Regions from separate parts of the Homo sapiens genome. Here region 1 is linked to region 2. The links are contacts of gene promoters, found by promoter capture Hi-C in blood cells and fetal thymus (Javierre and others, 2016). All regions are on one chromosome and are shown on one strand. The core of a region is centred on a gene start or on the middle of the fragment in contact, and the rest is flanking DNA. Distances in the headings are between cores, read along the strand shown. Region 1 holds the start of SLC35B3 (solute carrier family 35 member B3). Region 2 holds the start of TMEM170B (transmembrane protein 170B).

What was found. Contacts are between HindIII fragments. The CHiCAGO score rates a contact against its expected background, and 5 or more counts as called.
Region 1: a contact is called between the fragment with the promoter of SLC35B3 here and the fragment with the promoter of TMEM170B in region 2, in 2 of 17 cell types (activated CD4 T cells and non-activated CD4 T cells). The highest score is 7.6, in activated CD4 T cells.

The regions. Positions count from the first base shown.
Region 1 is chr6:8,430,007-8,436,915 of GRCh38, reverse strand. It overlaps SLC35B3 (solute carrier family 35 member B3), which reads left to right and starts at 1,371. Exons shown (of 10, transcript NM_001370479.2): 1 at 1,371-1,573; 2 at 6,759-6,909. The coding sequence starts at 6,852. LOC100506207 (a long non-coding RNA gene) reads right to left here and starts at 1,293. Exons shown (of 5, transcript NR_038980.1): 1 at 738-1,293. RefSeq lists enhancers at 974-1,063, 1,144-1,223, 1,164-1,333, 1,534-1,593, 1,090-1,631 and 2 more. The HindIII fragment of the contact is 10,856 bases long and covers 727-6,909 here.
Region 2 is chr6:11,535,319-11,542,324 of GRCh38, reverse strand. TMEM170B (transmembrane protein 170B) reads right to left here and starts at 4,576. Exons shown (of 3, transcript NM_001100829.3): 1 at 3,951-4,576. The coding sequence starts at 4,047. RefSeq lists silencers at 3,623-3,902, 3,913-3,992, 4,093-4,252, 4,283-5,112 and an enhancer at 3,782-4,283. The HindIII fragment of the contact is 5,632 bases long and covers 1,128-6,759 here.

The sequences.
Region 1 (6,909 bases), core at 122-2,621, 3.1 Mb after region 2:
ACTGCAATTGTCCAGGCATGAGCAGATGGTACCTTGTAACACCTCTTGTACCTTAAGTTGTTTTATACTGCCATTTACTTTCTCATGGAAACCCCTAATTTCTTCAGGACAGGGAGCTCATACGCATAGTTTACGATATGAGCTATACATATGCCCATTTAATAAATACTTGATAAATAACCACCATATAAATGGCTAACAGTAGTACTAAATTCACATTATACAGTGACGATATGGCATCACTGAAAGGTTTTGTCATTTACTATCTCTTTAGGAAATTTAAGTTCTCTAAGCCTTAATTCCAACATTCCTAAGTGTTGCTAACACCAGCCTAACAACGTTGGCAAGTATTAAACGAAAATGTCTACCCAGACCTTTTTTTCTCACCACCAAAGTAGGTGCCTTGCTTTCTTACAAACCCTCGATCCCAATACAAGACACAAATGCTACCCTTTCTGAAGAGTGCCTGTAAAATTTTAAAAGTTGTCCATAACTGACTGGATTCTAACATACATATTAATCCAATTCATCCCTTTCTGGTATTCAAGGCATGCTTTCAAAAATTGTCCATCTTCGTTACAGTAATATTTTCCTTAATTATTCTCTGAAAACAGCTCATCCCCAAACCGTCTTGGTTTTTACGTTATTACATCTCAGTGGTGATGGATGAGGCCCTAAACGCGGGGAAAACCTTTTACAAAAGTTTTGATGGCTGGTCCTCAAGCTTTGAGATTTACCTTCCAAGAATTAAGCAGCACTATCGAAACAATGCTGGCAACATTTTTATGAGGTTGCAAGGACCACGGTTGCTGCAGCTACAGGATGAGTTATAACGTCAGAAGCAACCCAAGCGTTACTTCAGGCCCATCTTCACCGGAGAAGCCCGTATGAATCAGGCAAAAACATAAAAACAGGTTCTGTGACTTTGCCGTATCTCATTTAGATCAAGTAGCACGCAGAAGGAAGACAAGGATTTTAAAATCTGGCTCCAACATTCTCCACTTGGTCGCGTTCTCAAATCTCAGCCCAGGGCCGCTGACGTAAAGTCGCCTCTCTCGTGGGCACCACGGGCTCGAGGGTAGCCGGCAGCTGAAACCCGAGGGGCTTCAGAGGCTTGGAGGCCAGGAGCAGGCAGAGCGCCGATGGGATAATGAGATTCTCCAGCAGATCGGCGCTCACCGACCTACTCCATTTCAGTGGGTAGAGGTAAAGGCTGAAAGGCGACCCTCGCACCGCCCGGCCCACCTAGGCAGTGCCGGCCTAGCGTCTCTACCCCATAGAGCATGCGCGGGAGGTAACGGCCCGCCCGCCACCGGCCACACAGGCCTGTCGGGAGGCGGGGCCACGCGTCTGCGCACGCGCGCAGGGACACATAGGCGGAAGTGGCCTGCGGGCGCCGGAGTTGAGAGTGCTTTCCGGGGAGGCGACCGCCGCGGTGGAAAGTGCAGGAGTGGGCGAGGAGGAGGAGGAAGAGGAGGTGATGGCGACGGACCAGGGGAGGGGGAGATGCTCCGTCTAGCTCAGACGCCACGCAGGCTGCCGTCACCCTTCCGGGTGACATACCGGCCTTGGGGTACGCGTGCCTTCGGGGCCTTTCCTGTGTTTGGGACCCAGATCTCCTCTCCTCCAGAAAACCTTGACACTGCCCATCTTCCTCATCCAGAAGGAGCGTTCGAGGAATGGATGAGGTCGGGATGGAAGAAACGGGTGATTCCCTTTTTTGAAAGAGCGGAAACCGGCCGGGCGGTTTCCAGGGAGGAGCATCTGTTCCTCCTCGCCCGTTTTTCGCCCTCGGGCTGGCGAGAACTCCCTCAGGTCCCAATCCGTGGACTCGCAGGGGTGAGGTGACCTCAAGGGGTCTTTTACGCTGTTCTCGGGGTCTCTGGAGAACTGTCAGTCACCTGGATACCTCTAGACTGTATTTACAGTTAACTGTTTCCTCGTTCCGTGTTTATTAAATAGGGGCACTCCAAGGTACTCTTTTCTCCATTTGGCTTGCAGTAGAATGTGATTGTTCTGGCTGGGCTATTAAGTTTATGGCATAAACTTCCACTAGAAGTTCTGCAAGTTTCCTCCAGTCTTTGCAACTGAATTATCTCTCCCGTCTTTTTATTATTTAAGGAATATTGAAAGTAAAAGATGGAATGATTTGGTGCGCTAACAAAATCTTAAGTGTTGAGTATCTGCATTTTTTCTACATTAGGATATCAGAAGCCTAGAATTGTTTTTTGATTAAACGTTTTTCTAAGTGAATTGAGATAGTTTGGAACTTGGAAGAGAGGCAGCATTTCAAAATAATTTAGACAGCGTTATTTTTACTTAATTACTTAATATATAAAGTCCTAGTGTTAACTTTTTCTCTTGGAAAAAAAAAAGAATAGTCTTCAAACATTAGCACAGGGTTTCTCCACCTTTGTGTAATGATGTGTGTACAAAGAAATGAGATGGAACTTTGTTTTTTCTGTTTTATAATCGTACACCATAGGCCATGATTGATTCCGGAGCGCAGTTAATCAAGGCATAATGGCATGGTAAGATTCTTTTATTTGTAACGTTGAGTGTGGCAAAGTATAGTTAAAATCACGTTTTTTCAGGTTAATGACACCGTAATGACTTTTTTTTCATATTCTACCTTTTTTTGGTGTGGGACTTTTGTCCTTCAGGTCGGAAAACTCAAAAATAAACTGAAATAATTGTGACTTCAATAGGTCATTGTAACTCAACATTATCACTAATTTTAATTTTTAAATATACATTGTATGCCGGAAATGCTACCTTTTTATTCCATTTTAGCAGTTGAAGTTGAATATCTGTGTTGAATTTAGGAAGAGGCCTCAGGCAATTATACACACCTGTGATTTTTAAAATATATATATATATATTTTAGTTTCACTGATTACTGTGAGCTTCAAAAGCAAAGCACAATGTTGATCATTTAGTCTGAAAACTAATTTTAATTCCATGCTTCATTTTTGCTCCTTGCATCACAAGGAGTTTGGCCCATTTTTTTTTTTAGATGATGGTTAGTATCAGTCATTAATGTTTGAAGTGGAAGGGATATGGCAGACATTCCCCAATGATCACAGTTATTAGGTATCAGAGGTCTTTATCAGTCACACTTTCTCACCAGTGATGTTCTTATTAATAAAACAGCATTCTAAATGCAAGGCTTTGGTGGGCAAGTTTTATGAGACTGATGCCTCAGGCAGAGGAAACAAATTTATTTTCATGTTCATTTCAAATGTTTTGTGGGGAGTTTCAGTAGCAATGTCGGTATTTTGGCATACATGTAGAAAAGACAGTGCTAGAGAGATTTCATTCTGCACATATGGCCTAGATCTGCAGCACATAAAGTTGCCAAGAAGTGTATTAGAAGTGGTAAAGTGTTGGAAAGGAGCTGAATAACGTTGATTAAATAAATGGTGCTTGCTAAACTGTGGTAGAGTCCTTCATTTAATCTTACATTTTTGTTATGTGCCAGAACATCATAGGAAGATATCTCTTGCCTTAAGGATTTCATAGGCTTTTAGGAGAAACAAGTATAAAAACGAAAAAGCTATACCATTATCATTTAGGAATTTGAAAAATATGTATAATATGATTGAGTCCAGGACATCAACTCGTTTTTAACTTCGAGGCCTTATTCATGGATGCAGCATGATCAGACTTCACGTTGAGCCATGTGACAGATGGGTCAGAAAGGGAAGAATTGATTATAAACAGTCTCGTAATCTAGGCAAGAGAAAATGGCTGCCTGATGGAGTAGGGTCCGAAACAGATATTAGATATAGTTATAGAGGTAGAGTTAACAGGAATCTTGGCAAAATATAGAATGTGAGGAAAAGGAAAGATTCTTAAGATGACTCCCAGATTTTTAGCTTGTGTTTCATACTAGGTACTGTTAAGTGAGATTGGGAATATAGGAACAAACAGTAGATTTGTTTTGAGGGGAAAATAATCAGCTTTGGCCATTTTAAATATGAAGTGCCAGCAGAGCTTATGAGTAGAGGTATCAAAGAAGCATTTAGACGTAGAGCTCTGGATCTCAGGAGAGAAGGCAGCGTTGGAAATTCAGGTCTGTATTTCCAGCTGCACATCAAAGGGGTGAGTCAGCTTGAGCACACCATATCACCCTAGCAATATTTCTAAAAAGTTGAAGGATGACAGCTAACACACTTATGGACTGTCATATGCCAGGCAATTTTACATTTATTTCATATAGTCCTAACCAAAATCCTGTGATAGGCACATTTTTAACTCCTCCCACTTTTGAAGGTGCAGAACCTAAAGCTCAGAAAAGTTAAACGATTTGCCCAAGGCTCCTCAGCTAATAAGTAGTAAAGCCAGATCTTGAACTCATATCTGTCAAAATTCCAAAGCATGGGGAAAGCATTATGCTATACTGCTTTCTTATACTATTACCTATAATTGTATTGAGTCATTACAATATGCTTGGCAGTTTACTAAATTACAAACATCTCAGAAGAAGGTGACTTTGGGAAAGCGTGACCTTCTGGAGAAATGTTTTGATGCCAATAAAAGCAGGAAAGAAAGATATTTTCTAGAAGTTTTATTTATTCTGTATGTATGTGTAAATATGTAAGCATTATTTGTAAATTTTCCCCACTCTTTTTCTATAAGATTTTCAGTTTTGCTCATAAAGTTTGCCAGTACCACCATCCATTTCAAAAATCGTATCCAAGCAGAAGGTGAGTGATTGCAAGCTGAAGTTTGAGGGTATCAAGAGGAAGGATCAGTTTATTTGGTTCATCTGAATATCAGGTCAGAGTATATGCCAGGTACCAAGGACACAGAGACAAATAAGATTTGAATCTTGCCTTTCAAGTTCTCTTTTCTAATAACTGGGGGGATTAGTGATGGTGTCACAAAGGAGGGGATATTAAAGCTGAACTTCCAAACCTGACCTTGAGAAAGAAGACCTCAGGCTGAAAGGACATCATGAACAGAAGGCAGCGGTGTTTTAAAGTCCCTGGTGTATTTCAGGAATGAAACATGGGTGGTTTAGGGCTTTATTGAGAGTGGAGGGAGAGCAAACTTAGAAACCTATGTAAGGCCGGGTTTATTTGAATGGTGCACTATATCCATGCTCACACATAGAAAAGAGTAAATTGTTAAGGTTTTCGTCTCTTCTACATTCAAGCACAGGTTTGACCAAATATTTAGGAGAGATAATTTAAAGCATGGTTTTAAAAGAAAGTCACATCTCAAAGATACCCTGCAAGATTACATAAAAAGTCTTACAAATGACAGTGATTGAAACATAATGTGGGAAGCAAGAACAAAGGAAAGTGAAGAATAAACAAGAGGAACACAGTAAACTTCATGAAACAACTTTTCTATTTAGAAATAAGGCAGGTGCCCTATAAAATGTTGTGGTGGCTGCATATTTTTAGTTACAAGTGGTATTCAGATCCTTGACCCCTCCTTTAATTCCTAAGGATGACCTGGTTAACCTCTGTAAATTAGCAAACTAGAAGTGATCATGAAGAGGCGACTCTAATTTTGGCCATTTTAAGCCATCTTGTAACAGTTTAAAAAAACATTACCAAAGGAAAACTCACTGTCAAAATTATTCTTATTTCTCTTCGTGCCGCAGAGTTTAAATTTTTGTTCCCACTGGAATTAAAAACAGATGAGTCGTTTCTAAGAAAATAACTTTTTCTTTTACATAGGTTTATTCTATACTTTGTCATAATTCTTCAGTCTTTCCTCAGTCTTTACATGGAGTTCATTTTTTCAGTTTATATAAATCCAAAGAGAAATTGATGGCTTCATAATTTTTTTTAGACTGACAAAAAATGACATGTTTTCTCCAGCCTTTTACATCCCAGAAGAATGTAAATTAAAATGATTTGTTCCAGAGGAAGAAAACATTTTTTAACCTAAGAGATGCTACTGCTGAAGCATATTGTGCTTTCTGTAGTCTCTGATAAATCTAGCTTTTTAAGGACCTTAGGTTTGGGGTTTCTTTGTTTTGTTTTTTTCATTTATTTTCTAGAGACAGGGTCTGGCTCTGTCGCCCAGGCTGGAGTGCAGGGGTGCAATCATAGATTACTGCAGCCTCAAACTCCTGGACTCAAGTGATCATCCTGCCTCAGCCTCCCAAGTAGCTAGGACTACAGGCATGCACCACCATGTCCAGCTAATTTTTTTATTTTATTTTATTTTATTTTATTTGGTAGAGAGAGGGTCTTGCTATGTTGCCCAGGCTGGTCTTGAACTCCTGGTCTCAAGCAACCTCTCTGCTTCAGCCTCCCAAAATGTTGGGATTACAGGCATGAGCCACCACACCTGGCCTTCATTTTTTTAGTTTATTTTTTAAATGTCATTAGCAAATATATCTTAGAATTGTCTTAGTATTTAAAGGAGAATTACTTATTTTTTACTCCTCTACAAGTGAAGATTGACTTTAATGTTGAGAATGTTATGCATCAACTATATATAGACACAAAGACATGTTTAGTTCTTTGATGAAATAACTAGCTTTTGTTGCTGTGGAAATAAGTATGGTTTATATTCAGTTTAATGATGTACTAATCTTTATCAGCTGTAGACAAATTGTTTAAAGATTGTAGGCATATTGTTTTTGGTGATTTGGAACCTAGAATACAGGAATTAATATACTAATATCCAGAGAGAAGCAGACATTTGTATAACTTTAAAGTATGATTTGGAATATTATTTGGAGGATTAAACTTTATCATGTAAATGTTTTAATTGCTTATTTCCTTCTCTAGGACTTGACACAGCAAGCAAAAGACATACAGAACATAACAGTCCAGGAAACCAACAAAAATAACTCTGAAAGCATTGAATGCAGCAAAATAACAATGGATCTCAAGTTCAACAATTCCAGGAAATATATTTCTATCACTGTGCCATCCAAAA
Region 2 (7,006 bases), core at 3,327-5,826:
AGAATCTTACTTATTTAAAAATATTGTTGAAGCTGGCCAGGAGTTAAGTTACATTTACATTTACTCTATGGCTCCCAAAGCTAACTTTCTCTAAAAACCCTTTGATGAGCTAATCCAGTGATTAATATCTACAGGCATACCTTGTTTTATTGTACTTCACTTTATTTTGGCTTTTACAAATGGTAAGTTTGAGGCAACTCTGTGTCAAGCAAGTCTATCAGTACCATTTTTCCAACAGCATGGGCTCACTTTGTGTCACATTTTGGTAATTCTAACAATATTTCAAATTTTATTATCTTATTATTATTTTATTATTGTATTTTATTATTATAGTGATCTGTGATAAGTGATCTCTGATGTTACTATTTTACTCGATAATTTACTCGATAAATCTTGTGTGTTCTCACTGCTCCACCAACCAGCCATTCCTCAGTCTCTCTCCCTCTCCTCGGGTTTCCCTATTCCCTGAGATACAACAATATTGAAATCAGGCCAACTAATAATCCTACATTGGCCTCTGAGTGTTCAAGTGAAAAAAAGAGTCAGATATCTCACTTTAAATCAAGTGCTAGAGATGATAAAGCTTAATGAGGAAGGCACGTTCAAAGATGAGTTAGGCTGAAAGCTAGGCCTCTCGTACCAAACAGCCAAGTTGCAAATGCAAAGAAAAATTCTTAAAGGAAATTAAAAGTGTTACACTAGTGAACACACAAATCATAAGAAAGCAAAACAGACTGCTCTCTGATATGAAGAAAGTTTGAGTGGTCTAAATAGAAGATGAAACCAGCTACAACACTCCCCTAAGCCAAAGCCTAACCCAGAGAAAGACCCCAACTCTCTTCAATTCCATGCAGGCTGGGATGTGAGAAAGCTGCAAAAGAAAGTTTGATACTAGCAGATGTCAGTTCTTTAGGTTTAACAAAAGACACCTCTATAACATAAAAGTGCAAGGTGAAGCAGCAAATGCTGATGTAGAAGCACAAATTATCCAGAAGATCTAGCTAACTGATGAAGGTGGCTACCCCAAACAACAGATATTCCATGTAGATTAAACAGCCTTATATCAGAAGAAGATGCCATTTAGGACTTGCACAGCTAGAGAGAAGTCAATCCCTGACTTCCAAGCTTCAAAGGACAGGCTGACTCTTCTTAGGAGCTAATGCAGCTGGTGACTTTATATTAAAGCCAATGCTCATTTACCATTCTGGCGCCCTTGAGAATTATGCTAAATCTACCCTGGCTGTGCTCTATAAATGAAACAAAAAAGCCTGGATGACAGTACATCAGTTTACAGCACGGCCTACTGAATATGTGAAGCCCACTGTTGAGAACTGCTCAGAAAAAAAAAAGATTCCTTTCATTTTAATGAGTATTTTCTTCAATGACAATGTACCTGGTCAACCAAGAGCTGTGATGGAGATGTCCAAGTAGATCAATGTTGTTTTCATGACTGCTAACACAACATCCATTCTGCAGACCATGGATCAAAGAGTAATTTTGACTTTCTAGTCTTATTATTTAAGAAATACACTGTGTAAGAAGGCTAAAACTGCCAGAGATAGTGATTCCTCTGATGGACCTGGGCAAAGGAAATTGAAAACCTTCTGGAAAGGAGTCACCATTCCAGATGCCCTTAAGAACAATCGTGACTCATGAGAAGAGGTCCAAATATCAACTTTCATAGGAGTTGGAAAGCAATTGACTCCATTCCTCATGGATGACTTTGAGGGGATCAACACTTTAGTGGAGGAAGTAACCATAGGTGTGGTCGAAATAGCAAGAGAACTAGAATTAGAAGTGGAGCCTGAAGATGTGACTGAATTGTTGCAATCTCATGATAAAGTTTGAATGGATGAGGAGTTGCTTCTTATGGATGAGCAAAGAAAGTGGTTTCTTGAGATGCAATCTACTCCTGGTGAAGATCATGTGAACACCGTGGAAATGACAACAAAGGATTTAGACTATTAGATAAACTCGGTTGATAAAGCCGCAGCAGGGTTTGAAAGGACTGACTCCAATTTTGAAAGTTCTACTGTGGATAAAATGCTACCCAACAGCATCCCATGCTACAGAGAAATCTTTCATGAAAGGAAGAGTCTATTGCTCTTCCTTAGTGGCAAACTTCATTGCTGTTTTAAGAAAACTGCCATCATCCCAATCTCCAGCAATCATCACCTTGATCAGTCAGCAGTCATCAACACAAAGACAAGACCCTCTACCAGAAAAAAGATAACGTCCTTGCTGAAGGCTCAGATGATCGTTAGCAATTTTTCAGCAATAAAGTATTTTTAAATTAACGTCTGTACTTTTTTTTCAGACATAATGCTATTTCACATTTAAAGACTACAGGTAAAATGTAACTTTTACATGCACTAGGAAAACAAAAAATTCATTTGGCTCACTTTATTGCAATATTTGCTTTATTGTGGTGTTCTGGAACCAAACCTGCAATCTTTCCAAGGTATGCCTGCACAAATATATGTTAAGTCCCTACTTTTCATTTCACTTAAACAAAAACTGGTACAGTTCAAATACCAAACAGTGGATAAATGCAAGCAAAATCATAAGTAAGATAAAGCAGTCTACCTCTAAATTCAACTGAATCATGAGATGGTCTTTATGTCCATTTAGTTTTCCAGAATTATAACAATATATTCCTTACCGGCAATCATCATGTAAAGTCAGTCTGTTTCAAGTTAAATAACCACAGCTTAAAAGTGAGGATAGCATGAAGCAATCCAGAATCTACTTTAACTGTATAGTTTCCATTCGAAGAAACCAGTGTCCTTAAAGTTGTCTTTTGTGGTATATAATTCCATAAAATTTTCTTCTATGAATGTTTGTATTCTATACCATGCCAGACTTTATATATATGTTATATATATGAACCCAGGTTATATTTGTAAAATACTCACAACACTTTAACCAGTTTGACAAAATGCATTTTGAAATACTAATGTTCTACTGAAATTAACTGCCTTACACATTTTCAAGAATTAAATTCTGAGTATTTTTTTAAGATTTTTTTCCTCTGAAAAGCAGGCACTGAGGAGTCACCAAATCGCAACTGAATCTCTTTCTCGTAAATTCTACTTCAGAGAATAATTTTTAAATTCGGAACTCAAAGTATAATGTAAGCATTTCCACATAACAAAACCAGAAGTTTCTTCACAAAGCAAATCTACAGACTGAATAAAAATATTGTGTGTTTTATCACTCACTTTTACAAATAGAAATTGATGTTATAAGGCCAATTACTGACAGCCTTAATAAATGAAGGGAAATACACAAAATTATCAAATGTCTCAGAAGCAGCAGCTGGAGGCCTGAGGGAAAGAGACAGACAGACAAAAGGAAATGGGAGGGGAAGGAGATATATGAAGCTAACACGCTTAGACCGCACTAGACCTTAGCTCAGCCCCTGACCCACTATAATTTACTCAGTTATCTACATCGCCCAAAAAATTAGCGGTTGAAAAAGTAAATCGACCATTGTGGGCAATGATTTTAGGTTCTACATTTGGCTTGAGATTTGCCAGAAAGAAAAAGAACTAAATCAGAAAAAGATGTAAATAGCAAGAAGCGATGTGTGTAGAAGGGGGAGGGGAGGAGGGTAATGGAATAAAAGCGAAATGCGCTCAAGTCTCAGCACTAAAGCTACTCCGCGCGTACTACAGAGGCCGGGCCGCCACCGGGAGCTCTCCCCGTGCGGGGCAGGAGCGGGGGTCGCTGATGCTCCCCTGGCGACTCAGGGAAGGGGGTGGCGGGAGCCGGCGCCCCCGGGACACGCGCAGAGTGGCTCCGATTAACACCTTCCTCGCCGGGACCTGGAGCTCCGAGCGGGGCGCGCACGGGGGTGGGGCGGCGAGGAGCGTGTCCCCTCCCGAGGAAGGAGAAGACAGGAGAGGGGCGGACCGCATCCCCGTCCCCAGCCCAGGCGCGTCAATTACCCGTGAGGTTCCTCAGCACCGTCCCGTGGGCCCAGAGGCTCAGGACCTGCTGCACCGACAGGTTGATCATGGAGTGGTCGCCCCCCTCCGCCTTCATCTTCCCCGAGGGGCGCCCGCCGCCCTCTCCTCGGGTGCCGGGCGGCGGCGGCGGCTGCGAGGCTCGGGGGGCGGCGGCGGGTGCGCGGCTCCTCCAGGCCGCCGCCGCTGGTGGAGGCTGCGGGACGCCGGGCCGGGCGCTGCTGCTGCTGCAGCCGGAGGGCCTCCGTGGGGGGGCCGCTCAGCGTGTCTCCCAGGCAGCCCCCTCCCCGCCGGGGAGACATTGAGGACGGCGGACGGAGGAAGGAGGGGAGGGGGCCGGGCGCCGTCCTCGCGCGGCCCCCGAGCGAGGACTCGGGGCGGAGGAGGCCGCCGCCGCTCCCTCTCAGGGGCAGCGCCGCGCCGCGGGGACTGGACACGCGAGGAGGCCGAGGTCACGCCAGGAGGCCGGTGCTGATGGGCAGCCGGCAGGTGCAGCCCCCGACAGGGCCCAGCTCATCGCCGCCGGAGGACGGAGACGCGGGACCAGCCAGAGGCTGCGGCGGCACCTGCCGCCCGCCTGCCCGCCCTCGGGTCGCCGACACTCGAGGAACCGCCCCCTCCACCCGCAGCCGCCGGCGGGCCACTCGTGCACGCGCACGCGCGCGCCTCTCAGCGCCGGCCCCTCCTCCCCTGCGCTCCCCGGAGCCGCTGCGCATGCTCACTCCCCCGCTCCCCGCGACCCGCCGCCCTCCAACAGCCGGTCGGCCCCAAAGCCCTCCTTCTCGCTCTCCCCTCGCGCTGCAGCGCGCGTGGCTGACGGCGCCGAGCGACGGCCCGCAGTGGGGCGGAGGGAAGCGCGGTCTACGTCACTGGCGCCACCGCCGGGCCTTACTGCTGATTGGGCGCTCCAAGGGAACCGCCTCCACGCCCCCCACCCCCGGACCCCGGGCGCGCGCCCTGAGAGACCGGGAGACCTGGATCCCTCGCCCTGGCCCGGCTGGGTGCGCGCGGTGCGGGCGGCGTGGGCGGTGCGGGCATTTCGGGGGCCCGCGCTGCAGGGGCAGCCCTGACCCAAGGTGGGGCTGCTGAACTCGGTGAGGTGGATACTGTGACAGTTCAGATTTTTGCCTTAAAATGTAATGCTTTTTGATAAAGATGCTTATGTATAACTTTTTTAAAAAGGTGTCACTATCTCAGCATTTAGATATATTAATTTGCGGGGTTTTTTTTCTGAGCCTGAATCGAATGACCTGGATAGGTCACTTACTTGCAGAATGCATGTTAAAACCCCTAAAACACAAACAGACCTGCGTTATCATTCTGCTAATCCCTCTTCCCGCAGCAAGAACTTGGGCCTCCCGGGGTTCCAGGACCTGCCTGACATTACCTGTTTACTCCAGGCTCGGCAGGTGTCCTAATCCTCAAGGCCATCGCCGGCTCTAGCCCCCCTTTTTTTGATGGTAGTATTCTTTTATCTAAGTTGCGTCTGTTATTTTTTTCCCTCGAACTTAAACTAGATCTCTCTCCCCACGCTTTGCTGTCTGTCTTCATGTCCAGCGTTAGCCAGAGGAGCATCTAAAATCCAACTACAAGTTAAACTCCTCGAAATTGGAAACCTTCTAACTTTAAAAAATAAAAATTTAAGTTTTAGCAGTAACATAAATATGCAGTAGCCAGCCCCTCCCCCCACCTTTTTTCAACCCCTCTGCCATCTGGATAAAGAAAAATTTACAAAGAGAAGTGAAGAAATACCTGCTGTAGCTAAATCATGAAGTATATTTGACAAAGCACTGAAGGGTCAAATTACCTGTCAAATGGTGCTCTTGGTGACCACTTTAAAATAATATTTACATACACATTTATTTCTTTGTTTATTTGTATTTTCTTTTTGATGTCACAACATAAGAGAAATTTTTGCACCATTAATAGGAATTGAGCCAAAACTCTTAATGTAGAGTTTATCTTCCTCCTAGAATTTAGACTTAATTAGATCTATTAACAAGATTACAGAATATCAAACCTAAAAGAGCGCTTTAACATTTTTCTAATTTTATTTTACAGATAGGGAAACAGATTCTGTGAATTAAGTGACTTGACAGAGATGACAGCACTTCACAGCTCAGTTTCTGAATTCCTGGTCTATTATTCTTTCTAGCAACCACATTATCTTTCTTAACCCACTGTTAACTCCCTCACTTTAAGATTCTTGATGGGGAAGTGCAGGTTACCTAATGATATTCTTAAGGGACTTGGCATTACATAATTAGTGATGTTAGGGAATGTGACCACATTCAGTGAAGGGTTCACAGCAAACTCCCTGAGCAGGGGCTCATTAAACTCTCATATCAGAAACCTTTAGTTAGTTTACGTTCTTAGGATTGCACACTATTATTTAAAACACAGTAGCACGCAGTGAAAATATTCAGAACCTGGGACAGTGCCTGGCACCTGCACCACAAATATTTGTTGAATGAATCACTGAATGATCTTCATAGAAAAGTCAGCATTGTTCTTGTTCTGAATAAATATTTTTTACAGAATCCAAGTGTTCATGTCAGGAAATGAGAAAGACACAGCAATGAAGTCTCAAGTCAGTAATGTTATTTGCTGCCCAACAACTTCACCCCTGCTGTTCAGTTCAATTTAATTGGCGTCTATATTTATTTGGCATCTACTATCTGTAATGTTCTGTGCAAGGTGTTATCTGTAACATTTGAAGATAAGATCTCTACTCTCTAGGCTACTTAGGTTTTCCTTGATAAAAGTAATGATCTTGACTGTGTTGGAAGCTTATATCCTTAAGAGAATTAGACATTTTCCCAACAGCCAGAGTTATGAAACCCAAAACTGAGTTAATACAAATGAAAGTTTTGGAATTTCTTTCCTACAGATTTTTTATTTTGAATTAATACACCAATTCAGGAAGAGTTTAGTCACGTTCCTGTCAGAAATCAGGGACCACCCCAAGTGAATCCAAAAATTTCCTTTCAACTCTGTGCCCTTCAGCATGAAACAATTCACAAACGTAATTCATAAAC